Linked DNA regions of Homo sapiens: region 1 is linked to region 2. Evidence: promoter capture Hi-C in human tissues and cell types (Jung and others, 2019). All regions are on one chromosome and are shown on one strand. Each heading gives the region's core, a stretch centred on a gene start or on the middle of the fragment in contact. The rest is flanking DNA. Distances are from core to core; before and after follow the strand shown.

The links. Contacts are between HindIII fragments. The study calls those that stand out against the background at their distance.
Region 1: a fragment that was not itself captured here is called in contact with the fragment with the promoter of SDCBP2 in region 2 in 1 of the 25 tissues and cell types used here (adrenal gland).

What each region holds. Positions count from the first base shown.
Region 1 is chr20:533,095-539,523 of GRCh38, reverse strand. All of the region lies in intron 1 of CSNK2A1 (casein kinase 2 alpha 1), which reads left to right. Among named protein-coding and RNA genes, the nearest start is that of CSNK2A1, 7.5 kb to the left of the region's middle. RefSeq lists an enhancer at 4,793-4,842. The HindIII fragment of the contact is 8,277 bases long and covers 1-6,396 here.
Region 2 is chr20:1,324,218-1,330,531 of GRCh38, reverse strand. SDCBP2 (syndecan binding protein 2) reads left to right here and starts at 1,393. Exons shown (of 9, transcript NM_080489.5): 1 at 1,393-1,447. All of the region lies in intron 2 of FKBP1A-SDCBP2 (FKBP1A-SDCBP2 readthrough (NMD candidate)), which reads left to right. It overlaps SDCBP2-AS1 (SDCBP2 antisense RNA 1), which reads right to left and starts at 5,189. Exons shown (of 3, transcript NR_040049.1): 1 at 5,003-5,189. It overlaps LOC124904856 (a long non-coding RNA gene), which reads right to left. Exons shown (of 2, transcript XR_007067487.1): 2 at 6,163-6,314. RefSeq lists enhancers at 4,613-4,907, 4,898-5,127. The HindIII fragment of the contact is 26,056 bases long and covers 1-6,297 here.

The DNA.
Region 1 (6,429 bases), core at 1,009-3,508, 790 kb after region 2:
GAACTTTTTCTGGCTGGTGTCAGAGATGAGGCAGAAGGGGAAGTCAAATTTGAAGCATGAGAAGGACTCAGCCTGCCGTTACTGGAGGGGACCAGATTGAAAGTGTGAGACGGGGAATGCAGGCAGCCTCTAGTAGGAAAGGCCAGTCCCAGCTGACAACCAGCAAGGAAGTGGGAACTCAGTCCTACAGCTGCAAGGAACTAAATTCAGCCAATAGCTTGAATGAATGTGGAAGCAAATTTTCCCCAGAGTTTCCAGCAGGGAACCCACCCACTGGATACCCTCATTTAGCCCTTGTGAGACCCAGTCAAGCCCACTGACTTCTGTAAGATAATCCATTTGTGTTGTTTTGTTTGTGATAATTTGTTATGACACAATGGAAAACAAATACAGGGGTTTTGCTGGTTTTATTTTAGAGTCTTTGGGATATCATTTTCTAGAGAACAAAGATAGCAAAGATTCTATAAAACAATTTAGTCCTGGAAGACTCCACGGAATAATGGTGTTGAGTGGAACCTGTGCCTGTTTCTTGATGTTTGAATATTATTATTGTCCTTAGATGCAGTTTGAAGGGGCTTGATGGTCAGCTTAGTGAGATGTAGTTTCTGAAGGTCTAGGACATTGGTAGGATTTCTGTAAATAGGTGGTTCTTCCATATCTTGGATAAATGACATAATTTCTTCATTAGTTTTTATTGGCTTAATAATGGGTTTCTATGACAGCCTTTTAAGGCTTATTTCATATTTTTTTAGAGGAGATGGAAATGGGTGATACATTTTTGTGAATTTGTAACTGTCTCTCTGTTCTCTCACACCTCCCACCCCACCCCAGCTCAGCTCAAACTTGTAAGATCTTTTCTCCCTGTCATTGTCTGTTGAGGTTGTTGAGTTTAAGAGTCAGATCTGGGAATCATCACTACAGAATGGAGTTTCTAGCTTTTAAGAAAAGTCTTTTCTTTTTGTTCTTTAAAGTATCCTATTAATTGGATTCATAAAATATGGACTAACTAAACTTTAGTCAGAGGATGAAGGAAGTGAGACCATTTCTTTTGAGTTATTACCTGAATAGAAAGATGATTACAAGATTAGCATTTCAGGGTATGAAAGACTTTAGAGGTTATGTTTGACTTTGGGTTTAGAGTAAGGGAAATTGGGCCACATGAATGTTAACTGGTCTACTAAGATATCTCAGCCCTAGAGCTAGTCTAGAATCCTGGTCCAGCCAATAGAGAATCATGACTTTTGAACTATGTTCCCTGAGTACCCTTTTCTACTGTTGGCCGGGCATGGTGGCTCACACCTGTAATCCCAGTTCTTTGAGAGGCCGAGGTGGGCAGATGACTTGAGGTCAGGACAAGACCAGCCTGGCCAACATGGTAAAACCCCATCTCTACTAAAATTAGCTGAGTGTGGAGGTGCGTGCCTGTGGTCCCAGCTACTCAGGAGGCTGAGAATCACTTGAACCTGGGAGACGGAGGTTGGTTGCAGTGAGTCAAGATCACGCCACTGCACTCCAGCCTGGGGGACAGAGCAAGACTCCGTCTCAAAAAAAAAAAAAAAAGATGTTAACTGTCTATAATATTCAACTATATGACAACTTTTGCATAAATATTACAGTATGATTTGTACAAGTTCAGAAACTGAAAACCAATATGATTTGCCATTGAATTAGGTAAGGGCTTAGTATTTTAAGGTAATAAATAATGTGATACTTGATTTGAAATGAGAAACTGGGTTTTGATCTGTCACAATTCGTGGGTAACCTGGATAAGGTTTGTTTCATGAGAGTATTAATGTGTTCTTATACCTGAATTTCTTTGAACTTCTGAAATGGATAATTTCGAAAGTAGCATGTCATTTAGTTTATAGAGAAATCTAGGCCAGCCAGCTTTTCAAATGAAGAAATTCCTCTAGGATTATTAAGGAAAAGTAGCTGCTGTCATTGTAACAAAGGATGTATTTTCATTGGGTTATAGACAATTGGTAGTTTTCTTACGTTGAGTGCTCCCAGATGTACTTTTTTTTTTTCACATGTAGAAGTCAAAGATTGAGTCTTTTAAAAAGTTTAAGGTGAAAGCATTCACAGTATCACAAGATACTGCTAAGAGTGGCATTTTAACTGGTTTCTACAAATTCTGTCTTTCAGTCTTAGACATTAAAAAACCCTACGTAGCAACAGTTGCTATGGTCGGCAAGCTTCTTTACATTCGTGGTGATAATGTTTTCTTGCATAGAAAATATTGTGTTATCTGAGGTGACAGTTTTAGGGTTAAATACCAAGGTACAAGTTAGATTAATGTTTTATAATTTTTTATGTGTGACATCTTAAATGCCCTTATATTGGCTGCTCTTTTCTTTTTATACTTTCTTGTCTTGTGGGTTTTTCTGACAGGTTTTTATTAGCTGAAACATTTTAATTTGCTTGGAAAAGTGAACATTTGAAATTTTCCTGAAGTTATGACTAATGCTTTAATGGGCATTTCTCAGTTTAGCTATCTCATCAATGTTCTATAAATTTTAAGAAAGCTACCCTGTTTAAAATGAATGGGTAAATTATTTTCCAAAAAATGGTATCATGTCATATCCAGAAATACGAGATGGTCATTTTGGGTTATTGAATTCATAACCACTCAGAAGATGTTGTTCATTCAGCAGATCCTGAGCGCCTGCCACGTTTCTGGCAGGCGTTGTGCTAAAGATCTCCAAACTGTCACTGCCCTCCAAGCTCAAAATTGAGTGACGTTTTCTGATAACAGGCATATCATACCACAACTTAGTAGATTTTGGAGGTGTTTTCTTATAATAACTCCTATTTGCTTTGTATCTTAGGTGTAGTTTTTGAAACAGCTGCAGAAATGAGAAGGGGGTAGAATAGAGAATTAATTGAGATTGCGGGTAGGGAGGGGAAGGCAATAGGTTAGTGGGAAAGAACTCCCACTTTGAGTTTGGGGAAGTTTACTTAACCTCTTCAAGTCTGGGAGTTCTTGTCTCTACAGTTCGGATAACAACTACCTTGGGCAACTTACTAACTTTTGGTTTCTTCACCTGTAACATGGGAATTAGTAGTACCTACCTCAGGATTTTTGTGAGGATTAATAACTAGAGTACTAGCTAGTATTATCTCAGGATTATTGAGGATTAAAGGAGAAAATTGATAAAATGTCTGGCATGTGGGTGCCCAACATTAGTTCTTTCCCTTCCCTTTCGGAGAAAAGAATGTGTTTATTGCCAGTGCTGTCATTCTTCATTCTTTATTTTCATTTTCTGCTGCCAAGAGTTCTTATTTTTTTAATGAGACTTTTGACCTGTACTTCCTTGTTTCTAATGTAGCCTGTTGGGTGGGTGAGGTATGAATTGCTGCCTAGGGGTGGATCAGTATGTAAGTCACGCCCAGTGTAGATTACCTCAATTACTCGTGTACAGTGTCTATTACCTAGTCCTGGTGAGTCTAGGATTCTTTTGCTTCTAGATAGAGAAGGTAATATTCCCATCTCAGACTCAGGAAAAGGTCTACCTTTGCTCACCTATAGACTTGTAAATATAGATCAGAGGTCTTACTCCCAGTGGTTCTCTGATCACAGTTTGGGAATTGCTTGAATATTGTGTGTTAGGGATATGTTTGGAGAAGGCCAGCTCCCTGCATTAACATCTTCTCTATGTCTTGCTCTCTCAGGTAATCCACTAACTTGCTTTCTTGTTTGCTTTGTATTATTAAGTGATAAACTGTAGGCAGACCAGGAACTTGTATTTATCGGCACTTTAAAACTTTTTTTTTTTTTTTTTTTGAGATGGAGTCTTGCTCTGTCGCCCAAGCTGGAGTGCAGTGGCGCAATCTCTGCCTCCTGGGTTCAAGTGATTCTCCTCTCTCAGCCTCCTAAGTAACTGGGATTACAGGTGCATGCCACCCCACCGGGCTAATTTTTGTATTTTTAGTAGAGGCGGGGTGTCGCCATGTTGGCCACGCTGGCCTCAAACTCCTGACCTCAGGTGATCCACCCGCCTCAGCCTCCCAAAGTGCTGGGGTTACAGGCGTGAGCCACCGCGCCCGGCCAGTGTTTTGTGTATTTATGATTATATAGAATGGCTACAAATGGCCATCTGCTTTGGAGTTGTCTACCTTTTGTGAAAAAATGAAAATAGACTATTGCCTAGCAATTAAGTATTCAAGCATGTATTTTGCCACATAATTTATTGTGAGAAGGTTATCAATGTCAAATAAAATGCTTTCATTATTTGCTTCTATTTGTCTGTCTTCCTGACCAGTTCATTTTTCCTTCCAGTGAAGCCATCTTGAGCTAGGGTTTTCTTTGTGGGTAGTTGTTAATTTTTTTTGTAGAGACAAGGTCTCACCATGTTGCCCAGGCTGGTCTCAAACTCCTGGGCTCAAGCAGTCCTCTTAACTCAGCCTCCCAAAGTGCTGAGATTACACTCATGAGCCACCACACTGGTCCGAAGAAATTTTTTTTTTTTTTTTTTTTTTTTTTTTTTTTGGGAGATAGCATCTCACTCTGTTGCCAGGCTGGAGTGCAGTGGCACGACCTTGGCTCACTGCAACCTCCACCTCCCGGGTTCAAGCAATTCTCCTGCCTCAGCCTCCCAAGTAGCTGGGACTACAGGCGCACGCTGCCACGCCTGGCTTTTTTTTTTTTTTGTATTTTAGTAGAGATGGGGTTTCACTGTGTTTCCCAGGCTGGTCTCTAACACCTGAGCTCAGGCAATCCACCCATCTCGGCCTCCCAAAGTGCTGGGATTGCAGGTGTGAGCCACTGCACCCAGCCTGGTCTGAAGAATTTTTAAACACCACAGCTAAGGACCTGAGCATTCATCTGCAGCTACCTATATGCTCTTGTTACATACAGTTGTTATACTAGGGGGTTTTTCACAGCCATCTTTTATGACTGTTTTTGGAAAACATCACATTGACCTTCATACATATTCAAAACTTTAGGCTTTGTTGCATCTGGAGTCCAACACTGAGGCCCACAGATGTCACCAGCCCCCAGCCAGCAAGGTGGGGCATGTCTCAGTTGTCTTCCTTTCTCCCTTCAGTAGCCACACAGAAAAGCTTTTCCATCATTTAAAATCTGATTTTTATACAATTGTGGCCTGGTGGCCAGCCCATTCAGGTAAAAGAATAATGAAGAAACCTGATTATTGAAACTCAGTATCCCACCCCTACCTTGCCTCCAAATTTAAAGCAGTTCATTTTATTATAGTGTTTTGGATAGGCTGTTAATAAATCAGTTTGGAGAACTAAGGAAATAGTATTAAATTTAGTGAAAAGAACCTATTTAGGCTTTGGATCCTAAACAGATCTGGCTTCCACCACTTAGTAATCCTGTTGTTTTTGGCAGATTATTTAACCTCTGAATCTGTTTATTTCTAAAATCAGAATATGCATCTGATACTGTGCCTGGTTTGTAAGAGGCATTCAAATGGTAACAGTAGTTATTACATTCATAAGTGCTGAATTTTTCTTTAGATTACTGTATATCCCAAATGAAGTTTTCCATCTTTTGGTTCCAGAGGGTAATAGCCAGTGGAGTAAAGTTTCACATTGTGACTTTATTTTGCTTATATGGCGTGGTAAAAAGGTGTATAGATGATGACTATATTGTAAGAGACAGTACTGGAATTCCGATTTCTCTTAGGTGTTTGGGGTAGAACTATTAATCCAAATCAAACTGCTTGGATTTTCTTCTAATACCTCCCTTCATTGGGAGACCTCACACTGTTGCTATGTCATTTATGTCACATTGACACTCAGATCCCTTTTCTGGGTTGAAGGTGGAGAAATGTAATTCACACAAAAGGCCCAAATGCTAATGTTTTCTGTTTTACTGTACTTCCTGGTTTGTTTTATGGAAGTAATACTTCCGTGTATTGGTTTAATTTTTTTGTATGTATGTATGTATTTATTTTGAGACAGCGTCTCGCTCTGTCACCCAGGCTGGAGTGCAGTGACATGATCTCGGCTCATTGCAACCTCTGCCTCCTGGGTTCAAGTGATGCTTCTGCCTCAGCCTCCCAAGTAGCTGGGACTACAGGTGTGTGCCACCACACCTGGCCTATGTGCATTGTTTTTAAAAACAAACATGTTGTATGTTTTGTATGTAGGAATAAAAGCAGAAGGCCCCTAGGGGCATGTTAGGATTTATAATCTCCTAAAGTTAAATATTCTGCAAGTTTACACAAGCAGTAACTTCATGAATTACTAAGTATTACTGAGAGTATTTATGTTCCAAATTCGAAGCCTTAATCAAACCAGAAAAAAACATATTCTGTTGGGTTTGAACAGGTAGTTTTCTTATTCATTGTATACTTAGAACCTTGGGACTTAAAGGTCAGAGAGTCAAGGGAACTGCCAAGGAGTTAGTTGCTAGATATTTTTTTGTTTTTTTGAGCTGTATATATTTCCCCACTTGAAAAA
Region 2 (6,314 bases), core at 144-2,643:
CTGCAGGGATGGCATGAGAAGCCATTGAGATAATGCCTTTAAAGTGCCAGGGGTAGAATCTCTGTGCTCTCTGGGAGTAAGTGCTGAATTAGTGGCAAATGTCTTTCTTGTTATTATTCCTATTGTGTGTTTCCTGTGTGGGACTCTGGGCTGTAAGCTCTTCATTGGCAGGCACAAGATCTGACACCCAAGGCTAGTGCAACTCTGCCAGGTGGGTCATGGGAACTGTGACGTAGGCCTGCCTGGCCCAGGAAGCAGCCCAGATACTGACACACCCTGAGTGTGTACAGCGTCAATCCTCATGGGACTGCCCAGCACACGAGTCCCTCGTCCCTCCCCAGGCACCCAGTGCGACAGGCACCCTCACCCAACCAAACCCACCAGGATCTAAACTAAATTCTTCCTCCTTTTCTGTTCAAATTTATATAATTATTTTTGGAATAAGTAGTACATTTAAACTTTTCAAAATTTAAGACACCAAAAATGTGCCATAAAAAAAAAAATCTCCACCTCAGCACACAGCTCCTTAGGTCTGCTCCCAAGAGACAACCACTCTAAATTCCCATTAAAATAATCAAACTTAATTGCTTCCCCCTTACAAAAGTCATGAGCATTCAGAGCAAAAGCTAACTTAAAAAAAAAAAAACCACCTTGGAACACACAAAAGTACAAACTGAAAACCTCACCCTCAATGCTGCCATTCAGAGATACTCAGCATTTTAGCGTATGTCCTCCTAGACTGCTTTCAACGCACATCCACTTTACAAAAAATGAAAACAAAATGCAAGAAGAGATTCACAATATTGATTTTTCAACATCTCACTAGAATCTCAGAAATGTTTCCTCATACCTTCTTCCTTAAGTGACTTTAATAGCTCTGTGATCTTCCACAGACAATGATTTATTCAAGCAGACCACAGAGATGGGCATTTGGGATTTCTACATTTTCCTTACTAGAAGCAGCAGTGATGGATGGGCCCTGTGACTCCACTGTAACAAATTCCTAGAAGAAATGCTGGGTCACAGGATATGACCACTTTTTAATATCCTGGCCTAGACCCCTAGATACCTATCACAAACCGCCCTCTAGCCAACTGCCTCGATCAGCAGGACTAGGTGTCCAACCCAAATTTAGAGCTATTTAAGAAAAGGCCAAGAAGTCTTGGTTCATAACCGTCTGAACAGCAGCTGTGAGGGCCTTAATCCCACCTCCAAATCCAGACTAAGGCCAAAGGCCTCCTCTGGGCTGGCAACCTGCCTTGTTTACCCAGCCACAGCCCTCACCTGTGCCCATCCCAGTCCAAGGTGAGTCAGCTGAACAGGGGACAGGCACCACCCTTCCCAGATCAGGAAGCCAGCTGAGAGACAGGGCTACGTTTCAGGGAGGGAAACAGATTCAGCAGCGGCAGCAGCTGGAGAAGGTCGTGGAGCAGCACCTTGCCTGCAGGTAAGCGCTGGGGGCCCTGACCCAATCCTGGCTGGGATTGGGATGAGTGAGACCTGCTCTCACCCTGTCCCCTTCCCTCCCTGCCCCTTCCCTTCTGGGACTTCCCAGGCAGCTTCCTTTCGAAGTGCTTCACTCCAAGCAGTCAAGTGTGAAGTGGGGTTTCTTCTTCTGATCCCAGCCCTGGACCAAGTTTGATTAAGGGCTGAGTGATTTTCTTCACCCAGACATCATGAGGGCCCCCGATGCCTTCTGACTGCCCATGACTGTGCTCAAGGAGATGAGATCCACACTTTGCTCCTTGAAAGGCCAATTCCAGCCGAAACCAGAGGCTGCAGGCAGGCAAAAAGCCCATTTCTCCCAAGGAATCCACAGCTCAGGCCGACTTCTCTGGCCTGAGGCTGTTTCTATCAAAAAACCTTCCTGCCACAGCACTGAAACACCTGCTGGGGAACTGCGCCAGGGGCTTCACCTTTCTAAGAACTGGTTTCTTCATCTGGAGACTGAAAATAGCCCACAAAGTCAGGAGAATGGAAGGACATACTGGACACAGGAGCCAGTGCATGCCCTCCTCAGCAGGGTCTCAGAAAATGGGGCAGAAAACGAGCCTGGTATGGGCTGGGCGAGCACTGGACAGGCAGCTTCACGTACAGTGGCCCAAGCTCATGACAATTCCACCACCATCACTTCCCACCTGGGCTCCTGCTCCCACTCCTGCCCTGTAGCCCATCCTCCAAACATCAGCCAGAGGAGGCCTGTCAAAATAACCCTTGGACCTTGGCACTCTGCTGCTACAAATCCCCCAGTGGCTCCCATCTCACTACAGTAAATGCCAAAGTCCTCACCATGACCTCCAGGCCCTCCAGGATCTGGCCCCTCTCACTTCTCCAGCTTCCTCCCCACTACTCCTCCTTACTCCCTCTCTGCACAACTGGCTTCTCACTGGCAGATGTCCTCTAAACACAACACCAACTCCCACCTGAGAGGCTCTGCAATGGCCGTGCCCACCCCATTAGGCCTTTCCTCAAATGTCACCCCACCCAGCCAGCAAGGCTTCTGAACCTCCTGACATGACCCTCCGTCCTGCTCTTTCTCTCCAGTGCCTCCCACCATCTAACACAGCACACAGAGTCACAAAGCCTATTTATCCAGCTCTTCCCCCAAAGAAAGTACATTTGGGGACCAAGTCTTCTTTCCTTCACTGCTGATACCTAGAACAGTACTCAGACTTAGCAGGTGCTGAGTAAGTAAGCGCTGAAACAATGAATAAACAGCTAACTTTTACTGAATGCCTATTATGTGCTAGGTGCTGTGCTAAATGCTTTCCATATACACCTTAACTCTTTTTAAAAATCTTTCAGTCTCCAGACAACTGTGATGCAACTATTGTTATCCAGATTACAAAGGAAGAAATGACATTCAAAGGGGATTTGCCTATGCTGTGCTCTCACAAGTCAGAAGCAGTCAGTCTGAACCCTGCCCTGCCTGGGCCTGGGTTCAGGCGTGTCTGCTTGAGGAAGTCACAGCTTTTCCCCAGCAGGCAGTGCAGCACTGAGAGGAGGAGTGGGGGTACATGCTGGTGGCCTAGCAACAGCTTCTTCTATTCCGACTCACCACATCCCTGGGCTAATTTGGCCTTCCAGGAGCTATTCCTCTGACACTCTAACCCACGCTTCCCTCCCGCGCACTGTCTTGTAAAGGACGGATGAGCTGTCCACAGGAACGAGTGGGAGTTCCATCACTTCAGCTCTTTGGAACAAAGTGTTCCAAAGAGTGTTCTCACTCTAAGTTCAAAGATGGGGGCTGAAGTCCCCTTGTCAGCCCTGCTGATCTCCGAAGCCCAGCTATTGGTTTGTTGTGGGTGTTGTTATTGCTTATATCAAAAAGTACAGAAGCTCAGGGATGGAAATCTGGAAAGGGCTGTGGGAGAGGAAAATTCCTCTGAGAGAGAGGGGTTAGGTGGGTTCTTTTCCTTTCGGAGGAACCAATTACTTGTGGGAAGCCATCAGCACAGAACTGAGCAAACTTCCACTGTCAGATTATAGGAGCCAGGCAGCCTTTCAACCTAACTCGTTAGGGCCATGGTTTCTCTCCTTTTCCAGGCCCAGGTTATTCTTCGAAAGACTTTCTACTTATTGACTGCAAACACAGACAGGCATGGGAAGAAAGACTGTATATTTAGGATATCAGGCTTTCTCTTCTCTCTGTGCCTGCTTTTCCACTCCTTTCAGAAATAGTAATGGGATGCCTGTTGTGTGCCAGGCACTGTGCTCAGCACTGGGGGTTAACAAATGAGTGACATTTCCTGACCAGTGAGGGAGATGAGCAAACAAACACAGCACAGTGGAAATCCAACCTAGGAAATGCAGAAGGCCTTGCTCATAGTAGGTGATTAACAAACACTTGTGGAATATATGATGAAGAGGCAAATACAAGAAATGCTGTCGTCTAGAGAAGGGAGGCTTGCCAATCTCCATGCGTACAGGTGGGGGAAAGCTTTAAATTGGAGGAAAAAGAGTTCACAACAAGGAAAAGAGAGAAGGCATGAATGACTCTTAAGACAGAGGGAATAGCACCTGCAAAAGCATGGAGGCATGAACTAGCAGGCTGACTTTTAGGACTCAACCTAAAGTAGTCTGGAATAAATGAACTTCATGATAAGTGTGGAGAAGAATGAGATGGTGAGAATGGAAACATTACCAGAAGTCAGGTCACAGAGATTTGAGGGCAAGAAGTAGGTATGGCTTCAGAAGGGAAAGGGAGGAGCTGAGGATAACTCCCAGATTTCTGACATAGCCCATGGGTGGATTCAGTGAGACCGCTGGGGAGGCGCGGCACAGCTGGGGAAAATCACGAGTCCAGTTTGGATAATCTGCGAGGTAAACGGGATCCAGAAGGCAACTGGACTCTCAGGCCTGGGCCTCCCTGTCCCTGGAATAGCACACTCTCTTCCCACTTGAACATCCATCCTACACGGCCCAGTCAGGGTCTTCTTCCTTCCTCCAGGAGACCTTCCTGATTGCCCTAGCCTTCCTCCTATACGCCACATCCAACTGCCTGAGTCCCTCATAACAGGCTTTCGGTCTGATTTTGCTGTGGGAATTGATTTGCCCGGCCAAGCCAAGAACCCTTCCCTAGGCAGCAGAAGCCCAGTCACTCAGTCACTGGTGGGTGGGACGCGGGGTGAATCTGCGTAGGGTGGGGCGGGGCATTTTTAGCTCAACACTGGGTCAGAAGTCACGGCCAGACAAGAAACGGGTGAGAAACGGGGGAGGAAGGGTGACGTCACAATTGGTAGGAAATACCTTGGGACTTGACGCTTTCGAAACCAAAGGGAGAGCAAAAGCAGCCGGGAGCGCGCGGGCCGACCTGGTTCTCCTCCCTTCCCACGGCTGCCTTAGTACAGAATCTTATAAGTCCTCCTCCTTCAGAGGCTACAAATGGTGTTCCGAGGCCAGGGGAGTTTAAAGCTCGATTTCACCCGCGCAGCCTCCAATCCGGTAAAGAGGGGCCGCGGAGCCCGACCAAGTCTTCCTATGCCTTACTCTGCTGCTTTACCTGATCTATTTTTGTGGATGCCGGCGCCAGCTACGGGCGCCCGGAGAAAGCACGAGGCCGGGTGGACTCTGGTAACGCAAGCGGCAAGGAGGCCGCCATGTTCCACTCTGCAGCCGCTAGGGATCGTGGGAGTCACCCCTAACCGCGCCCGGGCCTGGGTGGGCGAAACGCATGCGCTCTAGAAGTTGCTGAGTCGCTTGGCGGTGTTTCTGCGCAGGCGCCGTAGCCCATAGCAACCGCCGTAACCTGTAGCAACCGGAAGATGTCGCTTCCGGCTGGTTTGGGGCTAAGAAAGGGGTTATAGTCATTTCGAGATCATAGAACGATGTGACAGATAGGAAACTGAGGCTGGGTTGGAGGCAGGCCCTAGGGACCGTTGCGTTGGACCTCGCTCCTGTGGCGCGGTGGATGGAGTTTGTGGCTTGTGGCTCCTATTTCCCAAAGCAGGAAATTGAGACAGAGGGAAGGCACAGGTTCGTCCTGAGGCTGCAGCCCAGGTGATGGTTCCCCGGGTAAAAAATCAATATGATGCCCTTTGTTTATAAGGAGAAGGCAGGGACATGAAAGTAATTTCTAATAAAAGAATATGCATTTCACTTTGTAAAAGCTGAGGCTGGCTTACACCCGATCACGCTTGTACCCAACTTAGGAATCAGCTTAGGTTTACTAGAAGACAATATTCAGCTGAATTTTGCCAACAGTTTATATCTGACATCTTGAGTCAAAGGCTAAATATATTTATATAAAAGCGCGGAGTCACTGTGACAGCTACACATGTACACAGACGTGAGCATGCTGTTCGGGTGACTCACCCGTGGGGAGCAGGGTGGGCAGCGATTTTCCAGAATGGTGAGCAAAGTGTAACTCCCCACAACCAACCTGATATATGCATTTCCAGACAGTCTAGTGTGTACTAAAACTAGGGAAAAATTCATTGTGATTGTATGTACAACCAATTATAACGGATTTTTGGCTTACTTGAAAGTTTGGCAGGATATCTGAAAGTTGTGCGGGACAGGACCATTTGTTATGGTGACTGTAATGGACTGTCCCATCCATTACAGGAGTTTCATATCCCTGCCCCCCCCACCCCCGACAGGGATATGACTGTCCCCTCAGTCTCGTGACACCCAAAAATGCCCACATAAATTTCCAATCTGTTCCTTGGAAAACCACTGATTTATTCAGTCAAATAATTTTTGCTAGCATATGTGTGCTGGGCAGTGCCGTGGCGGGGAAGGATCGTGTGTGAACGGGACAGAGCTCCTGCCCTTATGAGTGAGGTCCAGTGTAAGAAAATACCCAGATATTA